3 separate regions of the Homo sapiens genome follow, and regions 2 and 3 are each linked to region 1. The links are contacts of gene promoters, found by promoter capture Hi-C in human tissues and cell types (Jung and others, 2019). All regions are on one chromosome and are shown on one strand. The core of a region is centred on a gene start or on the middle of the fragment in contact, and the rest is flanking DNA. Distances in the headings are between cores, read along the strand shown. Region 1 holds the start of SFMBT2 (Scm like with four mbt domains 2). Region 2 overlaps LOC101928080 (a long non-coding RNA gene). Region 3 has its middle 25 kb from the start of LINC02649.

Region 1 (4,015 bases), core at 1,051-3,550:
CGAGCTCGCGTTTGCTGGCTTTCCCTCTGGCTCCTCTGCCTGACCCCGATTTTGTCTCCGAACTCCACTCCCAGATCCTCCCCGCCCTGGAACGCCGACCTTTCCCCCGCACTTCGCCGCCCACTCACATCCCCCGGCGACTGCCCGGCCTCCATGCCCGCCAAGACAAGAAGATGCCCCTCTCCGATGCGCCGAGAGGGTTCCTAAGCCGAGCAAGGGACAATTTCTTCCCCAAACGCTGTCCCCATCCCCCACCTTCCCTAGAGCGCGAAACCCAAAAGTAAGGAAGGCAACCCCTCGCCTCGACCCTACGTGCTTGTCTCCCAGAGCCGCGCGCTCCCGCCCTTCTGCCCCACCCCACCACCACCACCACCACTTTGGTCTTCTCCAAGCTTCGGTCCCGGTCCCCCACCTCCCACCCCAGAGCGGCGTGGAGGAAAGCAGGAGCCCACTATTAAGTGCAGCGCGCCCCCTGCACACACGAAATCCGGCTGGCGTCTGCAGCCCGATTGCACCCAATACCCGGGACAGTTAGTCCTTTTAATAAGCACCTCCTCGCCCCACCTACTCGGGGATCTACCCGCGCAGGATCCAGCACACACAAGGCGAGAGCTAGCTCGTCTCCTAGAAAGACAAAATAAATCACTCCCTCTGCCCTCATGTACTTTACACCACGTGTCCGCAGTTTGTCACGTCAAATCATGGCAGGGTCTGGTTCCAAGACGCACACACACATTCGGGGTGGTTCTCTTTGACACACACACCCAAAAAAACTGCGCACACGCAGGCCTGCACACTAATCCACAGGCACACACGACAGTTGCGTTTCGGTGCCCTGGTCCGGGCCAGGGGCACTTCTCCATCCCTTTCCCCCCTAGCAATGGACTTGACACACAGACTCTAACCACGGAAAAAAAAAACCGGACAGCCCATTCCTTCTTTTTTTCCCCACTTAATTCGCTAAAGCGCTTCCTGGGGTAGCCAAAGAGAGTCGAAACTAAGGGGTGGAAACTTCAGCTGGGTTTTTTCCCACCTCAAAACCTTTATTTTCAGTTTTTAAAAGCCACCTTAGCCCGCCATATTGAAACTGGCACGGTTTCTAAAGACTCCTTCCCCGCAGTTGTGGCGCTTCCAAGAAAACACGAGTACGGATCAGGCTCTGGATGAGTGTCCGGCCACCGAGAATCAGCCACTTCCCACCCTCCAGGATCCCCCAGCTCCCTCCAGCCCCTTCCCACCGCCCCTGGTCAAAATCAATAAATACATCTCGCAGTTCCTACAGTTGCATTTTGGCGGATTTCTGCAAAACATACACACACATACACATACCCACGCACGCATATTAAAAAATAAACTCCAGAACCAGCTCAAGTCAGCAATTTTGAAAGGGGGTCGAATAAGAGGAGACAACCGGAAAGCCCCTAAGTGACAGGATATTACTTTAAAGAGAAAATAATGAACAAAAAGACCATCCTCGCTGGAGCACGCTCCAAAACTACTACTGCCAATTTTATTTCAGTTGCTCAGGCAAATGTTTCCAAGGGAGCGATTCCGAATGTCTGCACGATTTTTACCCCCATGCCGGTCTCCGATTCCCCGTCCTCACCATCTTTTTCTCCCACCCAAACCAAAAGAAAGGGGAGACCCCAGCGCGGAGGAGACGCGGGAGCGCGGGGTAGGTAGCAGCGGCGGCTGCGTCGCTAAAATGAGTGCAGAAACGAGGAAGGTGGGCGGCGGGAGGGGACAGGCTGCGCCCGGGGAAGGAGGACACTTTGCAACTCCGGACGGACTCCCGCACGGCTCGGCTTTTCCGAGCCCGGAGACGCAGGCGAAGGGGACCCGGGAAGCAAAAATGACAACCTGGAGCGCACAGAGGAGTTTGAAGCTTCGCTCAAGTGCAGTCGCTTTCTTCTCCTGCCCTTCTCTTTCGCTCCCCTGCACCCTCCCCAGCCTTCCCCCACCCGCCACCTCCAACCCCAGCTCCCTCAGGCTTCCTTCCTTTTTTTTTTTTTCCTTTTTTTTCCTAGGCTGGAAAAAGCCCCTGACCAGCGCACTCAACCTGCGGGCCGAAGGGCTGCTCTCCGGCCAGCCTGGGCGCCGGGGACAGCAGCCGGCGCGGCGTCCTACCTGGTGAAGTTCGTCCTGCCCTCGGCGTGGACCCAGGCCCCGGTCGCCGCCCGGGAGGGCACCGGCCTCGCTCGCTTGCTCGCTCGCCCGCCCTTGCCCGCTCGCTCCCCGCCCGCCGCCTCCCTCGCGCGCCCGCTCCGGTCCTCCGGCTCCCACTACAGCTCATTCCAATATGGCATCCTCTCTGTGCGCATGCTCGGCGCTCTTTTTTTTTTTTTTTTTTTTTTTTTTTTAAGATTTTGTGTGTGTGTGTATGTGTGTGCGTGCGCGTGCAGCGAACTCCTTCAACGACCTTTTCCAGCGCTTGCAAAATTTCTTAAGCCAATTAGCCTGCGGGACGTGATCGGCTCCTTCCCCAGCCAGCTCCGCGCCATTCCCTGCGCCTAAGCAGGCGGGCACCCCCAGGACCCTGGGACCTTCCACGCCCACGCGGCCTCCTCCCCACCGCGCTCCCCTTCCTCCTTTTTGTGAGCTCCCTCCATACATGATCTGCAGAAAGTTCCCATCGCGGGCGTTTCCGCACACCCCTCCGCAAGGACAACTGGGCAAACTCCCGTTTCCCTGGCTGCGGTTCGTGAGCTGGGTTTCCAATGGCTCAGTCGACCGTGTGCACAAACTTGCGCTTTATCCGCCGGGGATCGCTGGGAGCGGAGATAAATTCAATCCCCAGGGCAATCTTGGCCCCGCCCGCCCCACCCCATCCTGTGCTTAAATAGAGCCTTTCTTGAAGCTGCGAACATTTCCAGGCCCCTTGGGCAGGGCTGGAGGGGCCGAGGAGAGCTATTCGAGGGAAAGGTGCCCCGAGGGGCAGGAAATTAAGTTGGGGCTGCCCGGGCGAGCTGCCAGGTAGCCGTGCTCGCCACGGCGTCTCATGGGGCACCTAGCTAGTGGCGGGCCTCATAGGGCGGGAAAAGAATCGTCGCTCACACCCCAGCAAAACGTGGCCCTCGACGGTCCGTTGGAGAGCCCCGGCGGCCGTGAGCCCCGGGCAGGGCTGGACGTCTGCGGAGCCCTCGGGCACTTTGTCCCGGGCGCCTGGGGAGGAACGCGGAGCTCCCAGGGCCTTAGGTGCAACGGCTGCGCAGAGCCCAAACGAAATGTCCCCAGTGCGGAAAAGCCGGTGACGCCCTGGTAGCAAGACCAAGAGCTTCCGAAGAACGCTGCGCCCTTAACTAGGGGGCCTCGCAGAGATGCCTGTGTGGGCCTGCATTGTATATTTCTGCGAAATAGCGAATGGACACGTTTGCTCAGGGTTTTTATGGTTGCCAAAGGGGGTAAAATTACCCAGTCCCCCAAATCTGTGTCCCATGAATCCCTCTCATAGTACCCCTCTCCAGGGGGCCAAGAGGTCCTCCAGGTCCCCGTGGGTTCGCAGCTCCACCCGCCCTTCCTCGCCCTGCATCCCTAAGGAGAGGTGTCCGCTCTGAAGGGCTAGGGGCCAGCCATGGAGTGAGGGGACCGGGGCTGACCACGCGCGGCACAGACAGAGGTCCTCAGGCGGGCCCTCTCCTGGACGGTGGGGCCGGAGCTGATCTAGAAGAAATACGGAGGGACGTGCCGAGAAGCCGCTCTCCTTCGCCGCGACCCTGGAGAGCGCCTCTCCACCCAAAGGATCTGCCGAGCTGAGAGATCCAGGGCGGGCGTCCGCAGCCGTGAGGCCCCCTGCGCCGCCAGTATGGGAAGATCCTGCCTCCTTACACCTTGGAGAACGCTGGGCGACGACTAAAGCGCCTTCCGCCGGCCTGTCACTCCATGTGACACAGGAGCCACGTGAGACCCAGAAGAGTCCAGCGACTCGCCGCGCGGCGCACTTTAAACTCTAGCCTGAGTCTGCGACCCCTCCAGCTCTCCAGTCCCCAGCTGTTGGGGACATCAAGCCGGAGCCCTG
Region 2 (4,015 bases), core at 866-3,365, 1.3 Mb before region 1:
TGACCGAGCAAGACCCTGCCTCAAATTTAAAAAAAATAATAAAAAAGAAGGCTACCTGTTGGGTACTATGCTTATAATTTAGGTAACAAAATAATCTGTACGCCAAACCCCTGTGACATACAATTTACCCATATAACAGATCTGTACATGTATCCCTGAACCTAAAATAAAAGTTAAAAATAAATAAATGTAGGACTGCAAAAGGCTTATTGCAAAAAAAGTTAAAGTTAAGAATAAATAAATAGGCTGGGTGCAGGCCGGGCGTGGTGGTTCACGCCTATAATCCCAGCACTTTGGGAGGCTGAGGCAGGCAGATCACCTGAGGTCAGGAGTTTGAGACCAGCCTAGCCAACATGGTGAAACCCCGTCTCTACTAAAAATACAAACATTAGCCGGGTGTGGTGGCACATGCCTGTAATCCCAGCTACTCGGGAGGCAGAGGCAGGAGAATCGCTTGAACCTGGTGGAGGTTGCAGTGAGCCAAGATTGCGCCAATTCACTCCAGCCTGAGCTGGAGAAAAATCTATTTTGTTAAGCAGGAGAATCCTATTTTGTTAAGCAGGAGAATCGCTTAAACCTGGGAGGCGGAGGTTGCAGTGAGCTGAGATTGTGCCACTGCTCTCCAGCCTGGGTGACAGAGCGAGACTGTCTCAAAAAAAAAAAAAAAAGGGCATTTGCTCCTCACATTTGGCCACTGATGAACACTGTCTGCATGTTACAGGTGAGGAAACAGGTGGAGGAAGGGAGTGCCCGGAGCAGAGGCCCCGCCCCGCCCCCACGGCCTGGCTCTCCCGCCTGGTTTAGTTTGGCCTCTAAAGCGTCCTCATTACAAGCAAAGTGCAGCCCCACCACAGAGAATCCCGTTTCTCTCTGGGAGTGCTTATGTGATTAATTTGAAGTCACCATGACTCTGATTTCCTCTGCAGAATTCAGCAGCGTATTCCAGGATTCCAGGAGCGCAATGCAGTAGAAAGCAACCACTTGGCCCAGGAGACTGAGACTAATTTCTGGGAAAGAGGCAGCCAGGCTCCTCGGCCTTATGCAGGTCATGAAGACTCAGTACATTGAAATTGAAGGTCCTCAGTTCCCAGCTAAGCGAGCCTCCAAGGACTGTGACGTCCCAACCTTCGGATGAGGATGGAGGCGGGAGGAGACACAGCGCCGGCCAGGAGACCTGGTGTTGGGGCTCTGCCCCTGGTCTGGCTGAGCAATCCGGGCAAGTCACTACCCTGGCCGAGGCCAGCTTTGTCGGCAGAGAAATGGGTGAATGCTGCCTCCGCTTGAATCCAGAGTTTGTCAGGATGCTATGGAAAAAATTATATGAAGGTTCTTTGCAACATTAAAAAAAATAATAAAATAAAATAAACCTGTTGCATATTTGCCAGGGGCTGGGCTTTCTGAGAGTGGACAGGGAACAGCTGAGCGTGCTTGACGGCTCTGGGGTCCTCAGGGCCTCCGTCTCCCCTGTGACACTGTCCTGGGCTCAGCGGGCTGTGGAGGCCCCAAGTGACGCTGTGAACAGCTGGCAAGAGCCTTTCCCGGACTCTACAGCCTCCCTGTGGCCCCTCGTTCCTTATGAAGGAAGGGATGGCTGCCCGACCTGTGGGTCCTGGGCACTGTCCTGCTCCCCTGGTTGTGGAGTTGCCAGGACGGCGGGACAATCAACACAACGCTCTTCTTCTTCTGTCGGGGACATCACCACAGAGAAGAAAAGAGCCTCTCCCTAGAGAGAAATCCTGATGTCTGAAACTTCAGCTGAATGGAGGAGAAAGGATAATTCATCACCTTTCCCCAGAGCCAGGGCAGCACGTAGGAGCTGCGTTTTGAGGGGAGGATGACAGAAAGAGTGCACACAGCACACCAGCTGTGCTAGGGCTGGGCCAGGCCAACCGTGGGCCCTTGGGGAGCCCATGCCCCCCACCAGCAGCCTGCTGCCAGGTTCCTGGGCCCGTGTGTGCGCCTCCTCCCAGGTGTTCAGCTCGGCTCTGACCTAGGAGCTGCCAGGAAGGGCTGTGCAGATGGAATTAAGGTCCCCATGAGTTGACTGTAAGATGGGAGATTGCTGGGGGCCGGAGTCCTTTAAGGCAGAGAGCTTTCTCCTGCAGGACCCAGAAGAAGACATCAGTGTTCAAAGCACGAGAAAGATCCAACCTGCCCTTGCCCCTGCGGAAGGAGGAGCCACGTGGCATGGAACGAGGGTGGCCTCTAGGAGTGACCCCGCTGACAGCCAGCGAGGAAATGGGGACCCTATTCCCACTCCACAGGAACTGAATTGTGCCCACAAGGAGGAGCTGGGAAGTGGAGTTTTCTCCAGAGGTTCCTGATGAGAACTCAGCTAGTCAGCACCTTGATCTCCGCTGGGCGAGGTCTGTGCAGAGCCACAGGCAGGCAGTGTGACTTCTAACCTTCAGAATCGGGAGCTAATGAAGGGGTGGGGCTTAAACCACAAAATTTCTGTGTGTGTGTGTGTGTGTTTTTTTGTTTTTTTAAAAAAAGAACACTACATAGCAATAGAAAGTAAACGAACATCCCCTGCATTAAATTGCACATGTATTGAAGTTCAGTAGATGTAAATTAGCACAGCTGTCTCTTCTTTCCTGAAAGCATTTTTTTTGTTTTGTTTTGTTTTAGAAACACAGTCTCACTCTGTTGCGCAGGCTGGAGTGCAGTGGTGCGATCTCAGCTCACGGCAACCTCCACCTCCCTGGTTCAAATGATTCTCCTGCCTCAGCCTCCTGAGTAGCTGGGACTACAGGCGTGTACCACCATGCCCGGCTAATTTTTGTATTTTTAGTAGAGATGGGGTTCCACCGTGTTAGCCAGGATGGTCTCGATCTCCTGACCTCTGGTGATCTGCCTGCCTTGGCCTCCCAAAGTGCTGGGATTACAGACATGAGCCACCATGCCGGCCCTGAAAGCATTTATTTTGAAACAATTTCAAACTGAAAAACACCTCTATCCTCTTCTCCCACACTGACCAATTGTTCCTCACCAGTTGTCTATGTATTTGCTAAATCATTCTGTGTGTGTGTATCATGTGCGAGTGCGTATTTTTTTTCTGAGCCATCTGAGCCCATTTACCCCTACAAAGAAAGAAATTCATTTATATAAGCACATAAAAAATTCAACCCTGATGAAATGTCTATTCTATAGACCTAATGTGAAGTATGAATATGCCCACTTTACAGACGGACAAACTAAGGTGGAAAAGTTACATGCCTTACCCAAAGCCACACAAATGGTAAGTGGCAAAACCAGGTTCCACCTTGAAATCCTGGGCTCTTTTCCTTGTGTTCTGTCCGTTTCAATTGGGGTCCAGTCGGAACAAGATAAACTACTCTGGGTGTTTCGAAGAGCTGAGATTTAATATAGGAAGCCCTGTAACTGTAGGAAGCCAAAGCTATTCCTTTGGGGGACTCAGAGAGGGGAATGGTGTCACCCAACAGCCCAAGAATGTACTCAGCACCCCAGCTCTCAAAGCTTCAGGAAGGGAGAGACCCCCTCCACCTCCTGCTGAGCAGGAGCCCAGGAGCCGCCCCCTGCACCCCGGGCTGACCTGCCAGAGCCTGAAGTCACCAGCTTCCCGTCACTGCTCAAGCGAAGTGGGGGTCTGAATTCACAGCTTCGCCATCAGCTATTGGGGGACCCGCACGAGTCATTTAGCCTGCGAATGCCTCATTCCTCTGTAAAATGGGGCATCTGGTTTAGATGAGCTGTAAGTTTCATTCCAGTTCTGAAATGACTAATTCTTCCCTCATTGTGTTCTTTGACTTTGAACAACTCATGCCTCTGTTTTGCGCCTCCTCTTTTTCAGTAGCCTCTTTAGATCCGATAGCAGTCCAAGGGGAGGCAAGGGAGCCTGGGGTGGTGGAGGACACCCGCGATGACCAACCCGTGTGCTTGCCACGGCTGGCTTCTGCTCCAAAGGCACCCTCTCCTCTTCTCCACACCCCATCCCCTCTTCTTTCTCTCTTGCTCCTCATCTGAGCTCCTTTCCTAGGTTGGGGAATTCCCC
Region 3 (4,015 bases), core at 1,003-3,502, 1.1 Mb before region 1:
AATTTTCAGAAATGGTGTTTGCTTTTTTCAACGTTGGTTGTGTTGCTGCTCTAGACGAACCAGCTTCTATTCCTGTCTTTACTCAGAGGTAGGTAGGATTCTTCCCCAGGCACCTACAGACCTGACTAGGATTTACAGGCAGGGGTGAGTCAGCTGACCCAGGAGGGTGGCATCCCATAGTTAGGACAGAGAGAGACTCACTGGCACGTGCTGGGTCCCTGCGTTGTCCTAACGTGCCTCCTTGCAGGTAGCATGGCTGAGTCAGTGTGCCGTGAGTCACAGGCTGCGGGAGGTGAACTTGAGCCTCACTCCGGCATTGATCTTTCGCAGGGATATATTGTTAGTTCCCGTCTGTTAAGACCGATAAAGGGTAATAATTTACTGGCCTCAAGTTTGTCTTCTCTTTGATTTCACCAAATCTTCTCCTTATACAGGAATTGCTTGACCTTGACTTTTCAGGAATTTACCCAATTTTATACTCTTGGCGTCTCCTGGGCTTAGAACCCCTTACCTCCAACCTTGCTCCCTGGCTAACTTCTACCCTTCCTTCAAAGCTCAGCAGAGATGGCACCCCCTTTCTGAAACAGTCCCCAGTTCCTGGGAAGAGTGAAGGCCTGAAGCTGTGTTGAGGGTGGCACTTAGCCCCTGGTTTGGAGCTCCATGTTTCCTTCACTGTCTGCTGAACATTTTAAGGCGTCGATTTGGACTTTCCTAGGCTTGCATTCCCAGAGCCTAGTGCAGTGCCTGTTCAGAAGACTTTTTTTTTTTTTTTTTTTTTTTTTTTTAGTGAAGAGGGAGGAATGTTAAGCCTCACCAAGTCTGATTATGCTAAGATCACTTAAATTTTTTCTGCCTTTTCAGAATACCCATTGTAGTTAGGGTTAGTACCCATGGTTTGGCACTTACTGGTTCTGTGGTTGTTGGGTGCCTTGTTTGTCTCTTCGGGCGAGATGCGAGTCACTCCAGGGCAGCATCTGTTCCTCATATTCCTCTCACATTCTTTAAAGCCTCCCTGTGTGCACTCAAGCCACACAATGAACCTTCCTGCCTTTGCCCACAAGGCTGAGAACTCTTCAAAGTGAGACTGTGTCTTACGCATTTTCACTTCCTCCATCATTTGACACAGGACCTGGCACGTAACAGATGTTTAATAAATACTTGTATTTATTGAATAGGAATAGGTAGTAGATTCTAGAGACATAGTGAGCTCAGCTCAAGTTCAGTTGCATCAGGGAAGGCTCCCCCATGCCCCCGGCAGCTCCCTCTCTCTGTGCCTATGCAACCTTTAGCAGCATGAGCTGCCTTGAAAAGTCAAAGCCAGCTTTTCCAGAAAGCAACTCAGCAACTCTCTCCTGGGGCCAGAACTGCTCCGAAACGGGAACAGCTGTGTATATTCTTTGATCGTTAGCAGGAAACGATGTGTCGTGTCTCAAAGCACCTTTTCATGCTGCTTTCTTATTAACTCCACCCAGAAGCCCTTGCCTTAGCAAAGCCAGTCTCGCGAGGCACCGTGGAAGTCCAGAGTTGAGTGCAGCTGGGTTTGATTCATTCCTGGGCTTGATTTCTGGAATCCTCCTAGATTCCTTCCTGGGTTTGAGTTCTGGAAGCCTTGGTTTCTTGAGGCGATTATGCTGTAGGTACTAGAGAGAAGCTACTGCCTTTGAGAGAAGGGTAATTACGCAGGATTTGAAAGGAGACAGGAAGCTGTGGGTGCCAGAAATAGAGGAATCTTGTTCTTTTATTTTTGGCAACATCCAGCAAGGTGGGAGGACACCTGAGGGGAGTGCCTTTCTGGTGCACCATGGAGGCTGGTCCGTAACAGTGGAAGCTGCCATCTTGCAGAAGATTCCTCTGCCCAAGCTTGGCATGGCCAGACTTCGTGGGCCATGTGAACATGAGATGATATCTTGCTCTGTGTGCCTTCCTATAATTTGGGGGGAGATGTTGACTAGGAGGAGGCATCCACCATTGGGCTTTTCATTATCTCAATGGAATGGTGACTTGGAATTGACTTTGACTCAAGGAAATAAAGTAAGATGAGGATTTACACATACCTAGATTAGGAAACTAACCTTTATACCTAGTACATATGTACACCTGTAAGGCATCTGGTACAGTCCCTGGGTGCTTCAGGGACTTCATAAAGGTGCATTTCCTTCACCCTTACTTATAAATAATGGTCGATGCATATTCTTAGATCATTTGAGATACATCCTTAAAAACTGTTGAGCATTGATCAAAATTTGTTTTGGAAATAAACTTGTTTTTAGTGCCCCAGAGAAGCACATTGTTTCCTAAAGTGAAGAATCCTCATTGAAGATGAATTGTGCTAATCTGGATTTTCAGGTTTTTTACTTACTGCAATAACAGATAGATTGAGGAAAGTACCCTTTTATTTTCTCTGGAAAGCACTGATGGATGTAACTGATGACAACTTGACCCAGTAGGGCAGTTCGTCTGCCCTCAAGAGCAGCTCAGCTCAAAGGGCGGTGTGGGGATCGCCAAGTGTGATGGAGGCAAGTCCCAGGTGAAAGGGAGCTCTAATTCATCAGGATTCCTCTATCTTTATAAGAGAAGCTAATTTCAAATCACTTCCTTCGTTATGACTAAATTTCAGGAAATGAGGATCACATTATTCCAGTGCAGAGAACTGGGCTGAGAGTCACATGCTTTATTATCTGCTCTGATTAATGACTAACCAACCTCGTAAGTTCCCCACCACACAGGTTAGTGACTGGATGATCATTTTGCTTTATCCACTTCCTAACAGGAGGAAACAGAGAAGTGAGCTAACTTTGTTATTTATACGAAGGTAACATACTTGCGATTTTTCTTTTCTTTTCTTTTTCTTTTTTTTTTTTGAAACAGAGTCTTGCTCTGTCACCCAGGCTGGAGTGCAGTGGCATGATTTTGGCTCACTGCAACTTCTGTCTCCCAGGTTCAAGCGATTCTCCTGCCTCAGCCTCTTGAATAGCTGGGATTACAGGTATGCGCCACCACATCCAGCTAATTTTTGTATTTATAGTTGAGGTGGGGTTTTACCATGTTGGTCAGGCTGGTCTCGAACTCCTGACCTCAGGCGATCCACCTGCCTCGGCCTCCCAAAGTGCTGGGATTACAGATATAAGCCACTGCCACCGTGCCTGGCCAGTTTTTTTTTTTTTTTTTTTTTTTTTTTTTTTTTTTTTGAGACGGAGTCTTGTTCTGTTGCCCAGGCTGGAGTGCAGTGGTGCAACCTTGGCTCACTGCAACCTCCACTTCCTGGGTTCAAGCAATTCTCCTGCCTCAGCCTCCCAAGTAGCTGGGATTACAGGTGCCTGCCACCACACCCAGCTAATTTTTGTATTTTAGTAGAGACGGGGTTTCACCATGTTGGCCAGGCTGGTCTCGAACTCTTGACCTCAGGCAATCCACCTGCCTCGGCCTCCCAAAGTGCTGGGATACAGGCATGAGCCACCGTGCCCGGCCCATACTTGTGGTTTTTCTATACCTATCTTCCTTTCTGGTGGGAGCCCAAAATAAAAATATGTGTGTGTATACACACACACACACACACACACACACACACATATACACATACACATATATATATATATTTGTGTGTGTGTGTGTTTTATGTGATCTTTCTTGGCTTTTGCATTGAGAAAGTCATCTTTGAAATTTAGAAAAACTGTCAGACTGTTGGAAGGCACCTTGGACATGGCGTCTCCCCAGTGCCTTCTTTATGCATAGAAAGGGCGCTCGAGGTAACGGGATGTCATGACTCTTGTGAGATAACACAGGAGCGGAGCAGAGATGAGAACTCAGGCCTCCTGTCATCTGTCCAGGGCATGTGGGTAAGATCAAGCGTAGGACTGGCTTTATAAAGCACAAATATTTGTTTGTCAGCAACTGTTTGTTTATTACTTCATTTTTGTTTTTCTCTTCTAAAATTCACCCTAAACTCTTTTATGATTTATGGACTGCTCTAAGCTTACAAGACTGATAAATATGTATATGCTGTGTGAGGAATACA

Evidence for each region. The method cuts DNA at HindIII sites, captures the fragments that hold promoters and counts their contacts. A contact is called where the count stands out against the background at its distance.
Region 2: a fragment that was not itself captured here is called in contact with the fragment with the promoter of SFMBT2 in region 1 in 1 of the 25 tissues and cell types used here (dorsolateral prefrontal cortex).
Region 3: a contact is called between a fragment that was not itself captured here and the fragment with the promoter of SFMBT2 in region 1, in 1 of the 25 tissues and cell types used here (dorsolateral prefrontal cortex).

Annotation. Positions count from the first base shown.
Region 1 is chr10:7,408,734-7,412,748 of GRCh38, forward strand. It overlaps SFMBT2 (Scm like with four mbt domains 2), which reads right to left and starts at 2,301. Exons shown (of 21, transcript NM_001387889.1): 1 at 2,128-2,301. RefSeq lists enhancers at 1-71, 119-198, 2,550-3,470, 3,471-4,015 and a silencer at 2,175-2,314. The HindIII fragment of the contact is 7,941 bases long and covers 1,139-4,015 here.
Region 2 is chr10:6,132,758-6,136,772 of GRCh38, forward strand. The region is part of intron 1 of LOC101928080 (a long non-coding RNA gene); the gene reads right to left. Among named protein-coding and RNA genes, the nearest start is that of MIR3155A, 17 kb to the right of the region's middle. RefSeq lists enhancers at 1,377-1,925, 1,926-2,473, 3,816-4,015. The HindIII fragment of the contact is 7,054 bases long and covers 1-4,015 here.
Region 3 is chr10:6,299,212-6,303,226 of GRCh38, forward strand. It overlaps a transcript of PFKFB3 not described here. Among named protein-coding and RNA genes, the nearest start is that of LINC02649, 25 kb to the right of the region's middle. RefSeq lists an enhancer at 1-875. The HindIII fragment of the contact is 4,169 bases long and covers 169-4,015 here.